4 separate regions of the Homo sapiens genome follow, and regions 2, 3 and 4 are each linked to region 1. Evidence: promoter capture Hi-C in 16 types of primary human blood cells and fetal thymus (Javierre and others, 2016). All regions are on one chromosome and are shown on one strand. Each heading gives the region's core, a stretch centred on a gene start or on the middle of the fragment in contact. The rest is flanking DNA. Distances are from core to core; before and after follow the strand shown. Region 1 holds the start of EPB41L4A-AS1 (EPB41L4A antisense RNA 1). Region 2 holds the start of TMEM232 (transmembrane protein 232). Region 3 overlaps WDR36 (WD repeat domain 36). Region 4 has its middle 52 kb from the start of WDR36.

The links. Contacts are between HindIII fragments. The CHiCAGO score rates a contact against its expected background, and 5 or more counts as called.
Region 2: a contact is called between a fragment that was not itself captured here and the fragment with the promoter of EPB41L4A-AS1 in region 1, in 3 of 17 cell types (naive CD4 T cells, fetal thymus and total CD4 T cells). The highest score is 8.4, in naive CD4 T cells.
Region 3: a fragment that was not itself captured here is called in contact with the fragment with the promoter of EPB41L4A-AS1 in region 1 in 1 of 17 cell types (M0 macrophages); the score reaches 7.7 in M0 macrophages.
Region 4: a contact is called between a fragment that was not itself captured here and the fragment with the promoter of EPB41L4A-AS1 in region 1, in 8 of 17 cell types (M0 macrophages, M2 macrophages, M1 macrophages and 5 more). The highest score is 9.5, in M0 macrophages.

What each region holds. Positions count from the first base shown.
Region 1 is chr5:112,159,276-112,161,775 of GRCh38, reverse strand. EPB41L4A-AS1 (EPB41L4A antisense RNA 1) reads right to left here and starts at 1,250. Exons shown (of 3, transcript NR_015370.2): 1 at 481-1,250; 2 at 1-73. SNORA13 (small nucleolar RNA, H/ACA box 13) reads right to left here and starts at 291; the gene lies at 159-291. It also overlaps a transcript of EPB41L4A not described here. RefSeq lists enhancers at 446-495, 606-655, 676-775, 551-1,283, 1,156-1,365 and 1 more. The HindIII fragment of the contact is 7,805 bases long and covers 1-2,500 here.
Region 2 is chr5:110,725,584-110,729,003 of GRCh38, reverse strand. TMEM232 (transmembrane protein 232) reads left to right here and starts at 2,333. Exons shown (of 14, transcript NM_001039763.4): 1 at 2,333-2,377. The HindIII fragment of the contact is 2,095 bases long and covers 535-2,629 here.
Region 3 is chr5:111,115,919-111,119,338 of GRCh38, reverse strand. It overlaps WDR36 (WD repeat domain 36), which reads right to left. Exons shown (of 23, transcript NM_139281.3): 17 at 219-326. Among named protein-coding and RNA genes, the nearest start is that of WDR36, 25 kb to the right of the region's middle. The HindIII fragment of the contact is 1,678 bases long and covers 797-2,474 here.
Region 4 is chr5:111,142,593-111,146,012 of GRCh38, reverse strand. No RefSeq gene overlaps it. Among named protein-coding and RNA genes, the nearest start is that of WDR36, 52 kb to the right of the region's middle. The HindIII fragment of the contact is 3,112 bases long and covers 13-3,124 here.

The sequences.
Region 1 (2,500 bases), core at 1-2,500:
CTTCAGGTCACCTTTATGCTCCCAGATGGTATTCAGCTAGCAGCAGTCTACACTTCAGGCATCCATCTTCCACCTGAACAAAAATTAGAACTGGCTAAGAGAAACCATACACTTAAGGCTAGCAGGGTCAAGATCACGCGTGGAAACGTAAAAGCAGCAACTGTTACTTATGCAGCTCCTACACCAAAGGTATCAAATTTAAGGGCAGGAAAAGGCTGCAAAGCGTTTAATTTACGCCTTTTTTGACACCACATTCACTAGTTTCCAAAGTGAATGGGCAACACAAAGGCTGACACTGCGTGAGGTAGGCTTTATGGCATAAGGTTGCTGACTGGCTGACAGTAATGCCGATTACAGCCTAAAAACGGACAATACATTTCAGAGAAATTTTCTCACGATTTAAAATCCGACTTAATAATGAAAAGTGAAATGCGATGCGTTTTAAATGGCGACTGGTCTTGCACGAACGTGAAAACTCACCTGTAGGGTAGGTGATCACTCCCGACGAGCACCGCACGTGGAAACAGCTGTAACCAGGCACGCTGCTTTTAAGTTATTTTATACGGGGGCAGGGCAAGCATAAAGTCAGTTATACGGTAAGGCCTTTTCACTGACGAAAATAAAACCAGGCTTATCTGGAGAACTCCCTGGCATAGTCGATGATGTAAACACAAATCGACGAAGCTCCCCGTTTCCAAACGTGGGAACGCAGGCCTGAGGCCAGGCCGCTGCCCTTGTTCACGGCCCCGGACACTTCGGACACAGGCCGCCGCAGTCGACTCACCAGACTCAGGGTGGCCGCGTTCCCCCGCCCGGCGCCCCTGCGTGAGAGACCACGCGGCCACAGCCAGGCGCCATCCCAGAGGACCCAGAGCAAAAACCACAGCAAGCTCGCACCAAAAGGAAGAAAGGACAGGCTTCCGTCCCACAATGCTTTTCTACAAGTGGAAGGACCCACTGTCCGAGAGCGCGAGGGGGGAGCGGGCTGTACCATCGGCCGCTGCGCTATGGCGAGACGCCGCCGTGTGGCCGGAGGGAGAAGTGCCAGTGAGGGACCGAGGGGCGTGTCACCAAAGGGAGGAGGAGCCTGGGTTCTCAGCCCGAGTCACCTCTGCGGATGTGTGGCCAGTTCTTTCCACAGAGGAGGTATCCAGACATCCCCCCACCCGACCAGGGTCAAGAGCATATGATCAGTGCTGGCAGCGGCAGGAGCCCAAAGGACTTTAGACCACGTATTTTGGGACCCGACAGAATTCATGAGTCCAGCTGAGGAAGAGTAGAGTCATTCATTCGAAAGATATTTAGTCAGCACTTACTATGCTCCAGGCCCTGGCCTGAGTGCCTGGGAATCAGGTGTGGGTGAGCCAGGCAAGGTTTCTGTGGTACATTCTGCTTGGGTGAGTAGGCCACTGACCAAGTGAGCCCGGATGCTGAAATTCTACAATGTAAGTGCCAGGAGGGCAGCAAAAGAGGGTCATGCCATAGGGTAGCGCTGTCCGATGGAAACAGTGTGAGCCATGAGTGTAATTTTAAATTTTCCAATTGCCACATAAAATGTGAAAAGAACGCCGGGCGCGGTGGCTCATGCCTGTAATCCCAGCACTTTGGCAGGCTGAGGCAGGTGATCACCTGAAGTCAGGAGTTCAAGACCAGCCTGGCCAACATGGCAAAACCCCGTCTCTACTAAAAATACAAAAATTACTTGGGCTTGGTGGCGGGCGTCTATAATCCCAGCTACTTGGGAGGCTGAGGCAGGAGAAATGGCTTGAACCCGGGCGGGGTGGGGGTGGAGGTTGCGGTGAGCCGAGATCATGCCACTTGACTCCAGCCTGGACAAAAGGGCGAAACTCCGTCTCAAAAAAAAAAAAAAAAAAGTAAAAAGAAACAGATCAAATTAATTTTAATAATAACCCAACATATTTTAAATATTTCAACAGGCAATCAATATGAGATTATTAATAAGATATTTCTTTTATATCTACTAAGTCATAAAAATCCGGTGTATATTTTATACTTCCAGCACATTTCCGTTCAGACTAGACACATTTCAAGTGTTCAGTAGCTCATGGGGCTAGGAATAGGAAGACTGGAAGTGAACTCCGAGCAGATGTGTGAAGGCGGTTATGCAAGATCTGGAGACAGCAGGCCTTGGCCAGTGTGGCTGGAGTCGAGTAAGGAGTGTAGAGTGACAAGATGCAGCTGGAGAGCCAGGCAGGAGCAAGGCACTTAGGGTCTTGTCACACAGGGCAAGGTGTTGGGATTTTATGCTGAAATCTTAGAGTTGATTAATTATCACCACAAAAATTAAGCAGAGTTTGTTAATTGGCTTTTTTCCTGATAACCATAACTCCTTGAAGGGACAGGACAAGTGGCAGCAAGACAAGTTGTATGATAACAACTAGGTCTCCATGTTTCTCTAAGTCCTAGCAGAGATTCATCCAGAGACCAGTTTTAGCACCTTTCGTTGTTTCTTTGAAGCCTACTTCTATAAAAGAAAGAA
Region 2 (3,420 bases), core at 333-2,832, 1.4 Mb after region 1:
CTGAGGCAGGAGAATCGCTTGAACCCAGGAGGTGGAGGTTGCAATGAGCTGAGATCGCTCCATTGCACTCCAGCCTGGGGGACAAAAGCGAGACTTCATCTCAAAAAATAATAATAAAATAAAATAAAAAAGACTGGTAAAAAAAAAAAAAGCAGAAAAAAACTGGGCAAGTAGGCAATGATATAGTTTCTGAAAGCATAATTGTGCCATACTAAGGGGTTAGGATGGTTTTGACATGCTTATTTTCCTAATTGCTAATTAATGGCCATTTTAGGATTATATATATATAGGTATATATATAATAATTTGAAAAAATTAGATTTGTCTTGTCAAAACTTCAATGTAGATGACTAATTAAAGGGAGAAAGGGGAGGTATGACTTTATTAGATTTATTTTTCTTACATAAATTTTCTAAATATTCTTGTCATTTTTTAAAATCATTGTGGGTCTCCTATTAGCTTAATATTATTGTGACTCTAAGGTTATACCAATATTATCTTAAAATTATTTAAAATTATTTCCTGTTTTAAGCTTCATTCCTCTGAGATTTATTGTTGCTATGGTATGAGATAGTAGTTCAGATTTATTTTCTTTCAAATTGTGCTCAGCCTCTGTACAGTTTTTCCCCACTGAGTTAAAATGGCAAATTTATCATATATAAATTTTATGCTTTTTCTGTAATCTTTCATTCTACTGATATATATATAAATAAAATCAGTAGATACATATATAAAATCAGTAGATATATTTAGAATAAGTAGATATGTGTAATATATATATATATGTATTTGTGAATTCTTCCTTATATAAACTTGTTCTGTTGTCTTCACTGTAGAATCGATGGGGTGACTTTTTTTCTCTAAACATGCTATAGTTTCAACTGATTCTTATATTATGGAGAAGAATTTTTTATTCGGCCTTCCTTTTATTCCTTTTTAATTCAATCTTCATTTGATTATGAATAACCTGGTTAACAGTTTGTATTTTTTTATGCTTTTAACACTTTTCTAGATCTCTTGAAATTAAAACAAGCAAGCCCCCAGGCTATTATTAAATACCACAGTCTTTTCATTTTTATTTTATCTGGATTATGGTAAGCACTGTTGATATTCTAGGATTTGTTCTCTCACATATGTAGTTTATAGTCTTTGTCAATTTCACTTTTCATTATTACCTTTAACTTACTGATCTTCTAGGAGTGATACGTCAGAGAAGCCTGAGATCACATATTGTAATTTCTGTTTTAAACATAAAAATGCACTCAAAAAACAAAAAAACTTAATTCCGAATCGAAGTAGTTCAAGTTAAATTTTCTTTCAAAGTTCTAATTTTTAAAGGCAGGTCATTTCACAGGACAATCCCTGTATATTACGTTTTAGTATTTTTTTTTTCTTTAGATGGAATCTCGCTCTGTTTCCCAGGCTGGGGTGCAGTGGCATGATCTCGGCTCACTGCAACCTCCATCTCCTGGGTTCAAGCAATTCTCCTGCCTCAGCCTCCTGAGTAGCTGGGATTATAGGTGGGTGCCACCACGCCTGGCTAACTTTTGTATTTTTAGTAGAGACGGGTTTCACCATGTTAGCCAGGATGGTCTCGAACTCCTGACCTCGTGATCCGCCCACCTTGGCCTCCCAAAGTGCTGGGATAACAGGCATGAGCCACTGCGCCCGGCCTACGTATGAATTTAATCATAAATGCCCTTCCCCATTCTTCCATATAGTATTTTACACTGGTGAACCTTTGTAAAATATATACAGTTGCTCGTTAGTAGACATAGGAATTCTACAAGGATTTTTAAAGGACTTATATTAGATAATTCTATTGCATACTACCTTTAAAAAGAGGCGTTCTTTTGTGTTTAAATTCGCCCTCTGGTGTTTAGTACATAGCAGAACATTCTAGGTGCTTTGTTTACTCACTGACGGGTGCTGAGGACACTGACTGCTCCAAATTTTCTATGTAAAAGGAACTTACGAACGGCAATTTAATTTAAAGACATAGCTACTTTTGGTATGATAGGCGTGCTGGTTTGTTTTGGGGAAGCAGCATTAAGACACTGAGGAGACATTAAAGCACTGTGAAGCCGCTTCTTGCCGTGGCTTCTTGCAGGATATGCAAGTATGTACAATATTCGAAACAAATCATTACTATGTTCTTTAAAAACGAATAAAGGTCTTTCACACAACATTGCATTTATTCTTTAGAAATTGAACACAAATGTGGTGGAGACGGGACAGGGCAGGTGGAAATTCACTTATAAGTCCTGATTGGCTAAGCCCTGGTCACGAGACCGTAAAAGAGCAACGTCTGTCTCAGAGCGACTCCCACAGCGTCCTTAGCAACCAGCCTTGGTTCCCAGCGGCTCAGAGCGCAGCGGTGAGTGATTAAGAGGTCCTGCTTCAGATGATTTGGGAGCTCAGGTTATTGTCATATTCACCATCCTAGGGCAACTGAAAGACCCACAAAGATCCTCACAGGGGAATACTGAGCCTCCTTTCTCAGGGTGCCATAGCTTTGTTAGAAGAAACACTACTCGCAACCCCAGGCTGGGCCTGCTATCTGGGCCCCTCCTAAGAGTCTAAGCAGTCCATCCTGGAAAAGCCACCAGGTCGTTTGATAGGGGAAGCTTTTTTGTTGGGGAGAATAAAGGAGGTGGGAACTTTCTTATTGCTATGAATAGGGAAATTCATTTAATCTCCCCTGGACTCGCTTATCCTGGGGCAACCTTGAATTCAGAAGACCAGTCTTCACACATCCTCTGTGGTTGGTGAAATTGCACCTTTTTGATTTTTATTTATTTATTATTTATTTAGTATGAAGACTCTTGGACTTCAAAAGAGAAGGTTCAAAAATTTGGCGCTCTGTGTGTGTGTGTGTGTGTGTGTGTGTGTGTGAAAGAGAGAGGGGGGTATATTGGAGATGTGTAATAAAACAATTTTTAAAAGCCGTTAATCTTGAGAAAAATATCCAAGTTGTCTATTAGAAAAATTTCTAGGAGGGGATAAGACTGTAGTAAGAGTCTCTTATTTACCTTACCATCTTAACAGTATGTCTGAACAAATTCTATCATTTGGTTGGTCAAATAATTTGCTTCCTCAGGTTAGAGTCTAAATCTTATATTCTCTAATGCATGTTACCTTTCCAAAGTCTTGATATAATTTTAATATTATCTGTTTTTCAGAAATTGTCTTTTAAAGTATACAGTTTCAACCTCATTTTTATTGGAACTTTAAAAAAATACATGAAGAATTAATAGTAAAACTAAAAAAAGAAATCTGGGTCTGTGCCAGGTTGCAGATGAACTGCCAAGCACCCAGGCAGACTGCTGGAGCCATTTCATGAGCTGAAACATTTCTCTTTAAAGTATAAACATTCTTGGTTTGGGTAATCCACATACATACTTGATTGAAGGTAGCAGA
Region 3 (3,420 bases), core at 386-2,885, 1.0 Mb after region 1:
ATCAATCATGTGGTTTAGAATATACTTCAGCAAAGCTGTCTACATTATCAAGCAGATGTTGAATCACTCAGACTTACAGTGAATTAAGTATCTGTGTTAACTTGTGACATTTCCATTTAATACACTTAAAAACAGCCTAAATGACAATTTTAGCAACTCTAACTCTCTGACAATACAATCTTCTTCATCCCAAAACAGAACTGTATGAAAGAACTTACCATAGATAAATTCCAAGGTGGTCCACATGGGAAGTTGCCAGAAAGTCTCCAGTAGGAGACATAGAAACATTGAGAGGAGCCGAGTCCAACAAAAAGCAGTCTATAAGGCTACAGAAATAATTAACATGTTAAAAGTATTTGAACTCTACCAAAAAGGAGATAATTCACAAAAATATTTTTGCCAAAAAGATAAGGGATAAGAGATGCAGAAAATGTTTTCTTTTTTTTAATCACCAGCATTGATCAGAAAGTCACCACTAATAAACAGCTTTGTTAACTAAGTTACTATGTGAAAATAATCTCACTTAATGAGAAAGACAACATTAACTAGACTGACTAACTGGAGAAGCAGTTTCAACAACAGGGAGGAAACAGGAGGAAATTTTCTGTTTTTCTCGAATACTAAATTTTGGTAGACTGACTTGGAGACAATTCTAAAGATATAACATTTAAAATAAATCTAATTATCAGTATTCTGTATTTCTGTTACTTCAGTGAAACTAATGAAAAGCTTAGGCAAAAGGAGAAAGTAATATAACAAAATGGATGTAAATAAGAATAGTAATTTAAAAAAAGCTTTTGAGCAACTGTACCTATTTTTCAAATAAGTAATCATGCTATACATGAAACACCATGAAAATTCAGTCTCTAGAGAAGAACCATAAAGCAATTTATGGAAACTAGTCCCATAGCTTTAAACTGCTGAAGGGATTTACAAGTTGGGGTGAAAGGGAGAGTAACCACAAACCAGGTAGAAGACTCAGAATGGGCTTCACAGAGAACACTTATGTTTGAGAGGAGCTTTACAAATGGACAGGATTTCAATGGATATTGGTGTCTAGTAGAGAAAGCATTTCCTGGCTAAGAGAAATGTGGTGGATAAGGCAAGGGAAAATACAATTGTGTAGAGTGAGGAGTGCAGTTTTGTAGGACCATTAAGCATAAGCATAAGGCTGCATACAATGTCTTACATATCAAACACCTGAGTTTGTGTTAATCTTATAATCGATGGAAAGTCATTAACCACTTAAGAGGAGATAGTGGCATAATCTTCACTTCCATAAAAACTTGCCATCAGAATGCAGAATATATTTGAACAGAGAGAATGGTGACAGTATGGTAGTAATCATCTAACAATCAACAAAGATAACTAGGATGGTGGTAGCAGGAAGTGAAAAGAGGTAGATTTAAGAAGCAAAGAGAAAGGCCTACACTCATCTGAATCCTGCTGAAAGACCCCTTAGGCTGGCTAAAAGCGAGAATAGCTTTAAGCAGAGTATACTGGTTTTTAATTACAGCTTTTCTGAAGCCAATATATTATCCATAGGAAGGTACACACAAATGACTCAAGTTCCGGATGTACATTAATACAAATTATTTCAAGAACAAGATTAACACTTTTTTAGTGTTCTGTGTGAGGAAGTATCCTCAGCACTTGAGCGTGCTAACTAATCGAATCTTCACAAACCCTATTAAGGCGGATCAGTCCAGAAAACTGAGGCCCAGTAAGATTTGAAAACTCGCTCAAGGTAGAAAGCAACTGGGTCAGGATTTTTACCCAAGCAGTTCTACCCAATTTATATTGTTAGCCAATATAAATTCTAGTAAAGCCACTACTGAAACTAAAACACAAAAACAGGGCAACAGCTTACACACACTGAGGGTATGCCTACATCAGTGATTCATGGGACACACACTGTGAGCAGCTCAAATGTAAATGAAGACTGTCCAGTGGGAGGCATTAAGTTGCTTGCCCATGGTAAAACGCCTCTCTCAATTTGCTAAAAGAGCCAATAAAAATGTAAACCTTAAACAATGAATGCAAGATGGAAAGAAAAGACAACAATTAGAAGCACTGGAAACAAACACACACACATCAAAGTGTGTTCAGGAAAAGGACTGCTGTTTAATTGTCCATTATGGGGAAGGGAGCAATAACCTGTCTGATTTCTGTTCAAGTCTGTTTTGAAAGCCCACAAGAATGGCTTTTATTGGGAATCAAGAGAATTGGGGAAAAGAAAACATTTGCTAAATACTTATTCTATGCCATACACTATTAAATTATTTATGTTAAGTCATTTAATCCAAACAATCCAGAGATGAAGATATTATCCTAACACATATAAAGATTAAACCTAAAACACGGCAATTTCAAATCTTAAGGTATTTCCTTTGTCTTAATATTACTCATCAAAAGTTTACATACGTGAAGGGTAAAACTTCCTAACATGTTTAGGTACTATCTGTTAAAAAGCTTACTGCTTGAGCAAACTTATTTTACTTCAAACTATAATTATCTTGTCAACTTCATTGTGTAACTTCATTTCCACAGCTGTGGTGTGTGGGTAGATGGGACTTCCATTATATAAAACCACCAAATTGAGGAAGGTGGTTTCCACATACACAGCATATTCTACACTGCCACATTAGTTCATGAAACATAAATGCACAGGCTCATCCCAGACCTAAAACTACCATACAGTTTCATGGTAATCTTAAAAAAGTAAGTCCCAAGGTACCTTACAATTTTTTCTGAAATAATATTAAAACAATTCCTATTCTAAGAGATCAGATTTACAAGATCAGAGCCCTGCATAACAATTCAGAAGGTTGTTTCTGATTATTATTCTGAGCAAATGGAGACTGCTTCCATATGTTCTATTTCCAAAGTGCTAAAATCACCTTCCACAGAAATCTTTAAGGAAGAAGGGGATGTTTCTGCCTCAGTGAGAAATTGAAAACAATGTTCTATTCCAATTATTCTCATGTAATTCTCCTCAGGAAGTAGGGGTGGGGTGAGACAGAACAAATGAAAAATTCTATTAAGATTATTTAATTTTATATATTTCTCACCCCTCAAAGAACTCAATCTGGCTGGGCACCGTGGCTCATGGCTGTAATCCCAGCACTTTGGGAGGCTGAGGTGGGTGGATCACTTGAGGTCAGGAGTTTGAGATCAGCCTGGCCACATGGTGAAACCCCAGCTCCATTAAAAATACAAAAAAAAAAAATTAGCCAGGCATGGTGGCACACGCCTGTGGTCCCAGCTGCTCGGGAAGCTGAGGCAGGAGAATTGCTTGAACCTGGGAGACGGTGGTTGCACTGAGCCGAGATCGTACCACTGTACTCTAGCCTGGGCGACAGAGCAAGACTTGGTCTCAGAAAAAAAAAATAAGAAAGAATTCAATCTGAATTTCTATTA
Region 4 (3,420 bases), core at 319-2,818, 1.0 Mb after region 1:
TAACTGTAAGCTTCTTTGGGAGCAAAAATTTTGTGATCTTGTGATACTGTCTCAGTATTTTTTTTCACCTAAACAACTCTACTCTATAACTCTCAAGTTTAGTATTTACTTAGAAGCAGGAGATGTGAAAATTTTGAGTGCCCTAAGTATGTCTGGAAATACCTCAATTTGATTTTCACAGTCCAGTGCTACTCAACAAACTATAACTGAGCACTTACTCTGTGCTAGAAACAGCATTTCTGCTTTCCAAGGACCTCTAAGGTAAGAGATAAATAAACAAATAGTTTTATAACAACATAACTTAATAAAAAATATAAAATTACTATGAGACTTATGTGTAGGATGTTTTGAGTACACCGAATAGGAACACTTAACCCATCCTGGGGTAAGGTTAGTGGTCAGAAGAGGTTCCCCATAAGAGAAAGAATTCAAGTCTTGATGTCTAGTGCAGAAGTAGGAAAAGTGCAATCTGGGGAGTGGGAACATCTATTTAGAAACCACCAAGTCACTTCAAACTCAACTACCCTCACTTCATCCTCAATTACCTCCTTGCATTTGCATGTGCACACCTCTCTCTTTCTCTCTTACACACACACACACACACACACAATTTCTTATCGTGGTGAATAACAATCACACAATCATCCATCCAGTACTACAAATAGAAACCCAGGAGTTGACTTTATTATCCACCTCTCAACTATCACCAAGTCTATTTCTACCTCCTAAATATCTTCTTAGTTGCATCCCACACATAATGATATATCATATTTCTATTACTATTTAGTTCAAACTATTTTCTATATTGTGTCTACTGTTAAATCCATCCAATGAATGTTTTAATTTTTAAATTTATAATTGACACATAATAACTGTATGTTTATGTAGTACAACCTGATATTTTAATGCATATATGCATAGTATAAAGATTAAATTGGGGTAATTATCATATTAACCACCTCAAATATTTATCATTTCTTTGTGGTGGCAATGTTCAAAAATCTTCTAGCGATCTTGTAATATGCACTGTATTGTTATTTGGTACAGTCACTAATGCTGGTGAAGATGCAGAGAAAAGGGGATTTTTATACATCATTGGTGAGAATATAAATTGGTACAGTTATTATGGAAAACAGTATAAAGATTTCACAAAAAATTAAAAATAGAAGTACCATCTCCAGCAATCCCATTACTGGATACATATCCAAAGGAAATGAAATCAGTATGTTGAAGAGACATTTGCACTGCCTGTTTATTGCAGCATTACTCACAATAGCCAAGATTAGGAAATCAACTTAAATGCTCATCTGCACATTAGTGGATAAAAAAAATGTGGCATATATACATACAGTGGAATACTATTCAGCTATAAAACAGAATGAAATCCTGTCATTTGTGGCAACATAGATAAACCGAGAGGGCATAAATTCAGACAAGCCAGGGAGAGAAAGAGAAACTGCATGAACTGACTCATATGTGGAATCTAAACTTGATTTCACAGAAGTAGAAAGTAGAATAGTGGCCACCAGAGGCTGGGAGGAAAGGGGAAAGGGAGGACTTGGAAGAGGTTGGTCAATGAATTTACTAACTTAGATATTTAATAAAATATCTATATTTTATTTTTCAGTTCTAGAATATTATTTTAGTAATTGTCAGGAAATTATAATAGCTCTGTTAAAATTCTCCATCTTTTCATCCAGTTTGTTCATATTTTCTTCAACTTCTAATAGTTTCAATTTATCTCTGGTTTCAAATGTCTTCAGTGCAAGATCAGTCCTGTATGTATTACAAGTCCCTCCCTTTGGCAAGCCTTTGGGATCTCAGCACAATGAGTTGCCAAGAACTCCCTCTATCTGGGAGGGACTTACTATCCAGCCTTCAGATTACTGGGCTACCACATCCTCTCACACAAGTCTCCCGAGGGAGAATCGGTGGGCGGGAGAACTTGGCCTTGAAACTCCTCCAGATTCCAGTTGGTCTCACTAACCCACACACAGACATTTAAAACTCCACTGACTGCACCTTATGCAGGAAGAGTCTCCCTGCTTGAATCAGGCCCAATCCTCACCAGCCCACGCCTGACTCAGTAGTTGCCCCTAGCGAAGGTAATGCCTACTGATTTTCATTCTCTAGGAAGCACTTGTCTCCCTGGAATAGGGTTCCTTTGGACTTCTTCCTATCCACAACATTTTGATGGCTTAAAAAACATGTATGTTATTATATTATACTTTATTTTTTAATTGTTATAACTAAAACTGCAAGCCCCTTGTTATATGATCAGTAGTATGTTGTGAAATGCTACAGTCGAATCCATAAATAGCCCTTGAATACATCCAGTTTTCTCTGTCTCTGTTCTACCACCTGATCCAAGACACCATCATCTTCCCCAAATTCCTCATTGGTCTCCCTACTTTTATTCTCATTTCACTAGTCTTTAATCTGTTCTTCATTCTGCAATCATTGAACTCTTTAAAATGCGGACCTAATGATAGCACCCTCTTGATGAACACTTTTCAATATCTTTACTCGGAGGATAAAGATAAAAATCCTTAAAGCGTGATTTTTGGATGATAATGATGTGTCAGTGTAGGTTCATCAGCTATAACAAATTTACCACCTTGGTGGGGGTATTGATAACGGGGGAGGTTGTGCTTGTTTGAGGGGAGGGGGTGTATGAGAAATCTCTGTACCTTCCTCTCAATTTTGCTGTGAATCTAAAACTGCTCTAAAAATAAAGTCCATTAGAAATATATACATATATACAATTTGTCCATAAATAACAATCTTTACAGGCTATTCATCCCGACAGATGAGGTGATGAAAAGACTGACTCATCAATACTTTCCTCAGACATCCTAGACTAGGCCTGAGATTGGCCTTAATTCTTCTTGCTGAATGAGTATGGGATCAATAGAGGGCCCTCCAACCTCAAGGTCGCCACAGCATCAAAGCATCCCAGAATCTAACTTAACTTTCCATTGTTTTAACAATTATTTTATTAGGGACTTTACTCATAAGTGACAATCAGTAGAGTTGAGACCAGGGGTCGAGAGCAGTTGAGACCACCCGGTGCCAGCCCTTAAGTCGGGAGAGGCCTGGAATTCGGGCTGCTGTTTAGTAAGCTTATAGAAAAGAGTAGGGTCACTCTCACAACTGTCACCTTCTTTTCTTTTCTTTTTTTTTTTAGACAGAGTCTCGCTCTGTCCCCAGGCTGGAGTGCAGTGGCGCGATCTCGGCTCACTGCAACCTCCGCCTCCTGGGTTCAAGCGATTCTTGTGCCTCAGCCTTCCGAGTAACTGGGATTACAGGCATGTGCCACCACACCTAGCTAATTTTTGTATTTTTAGTAGAGACGGGGTTTCACCATGTTGGCCAGGATGATCTTGATCTCCTGACCTCGTAATCCTCCCACTTCAGCCT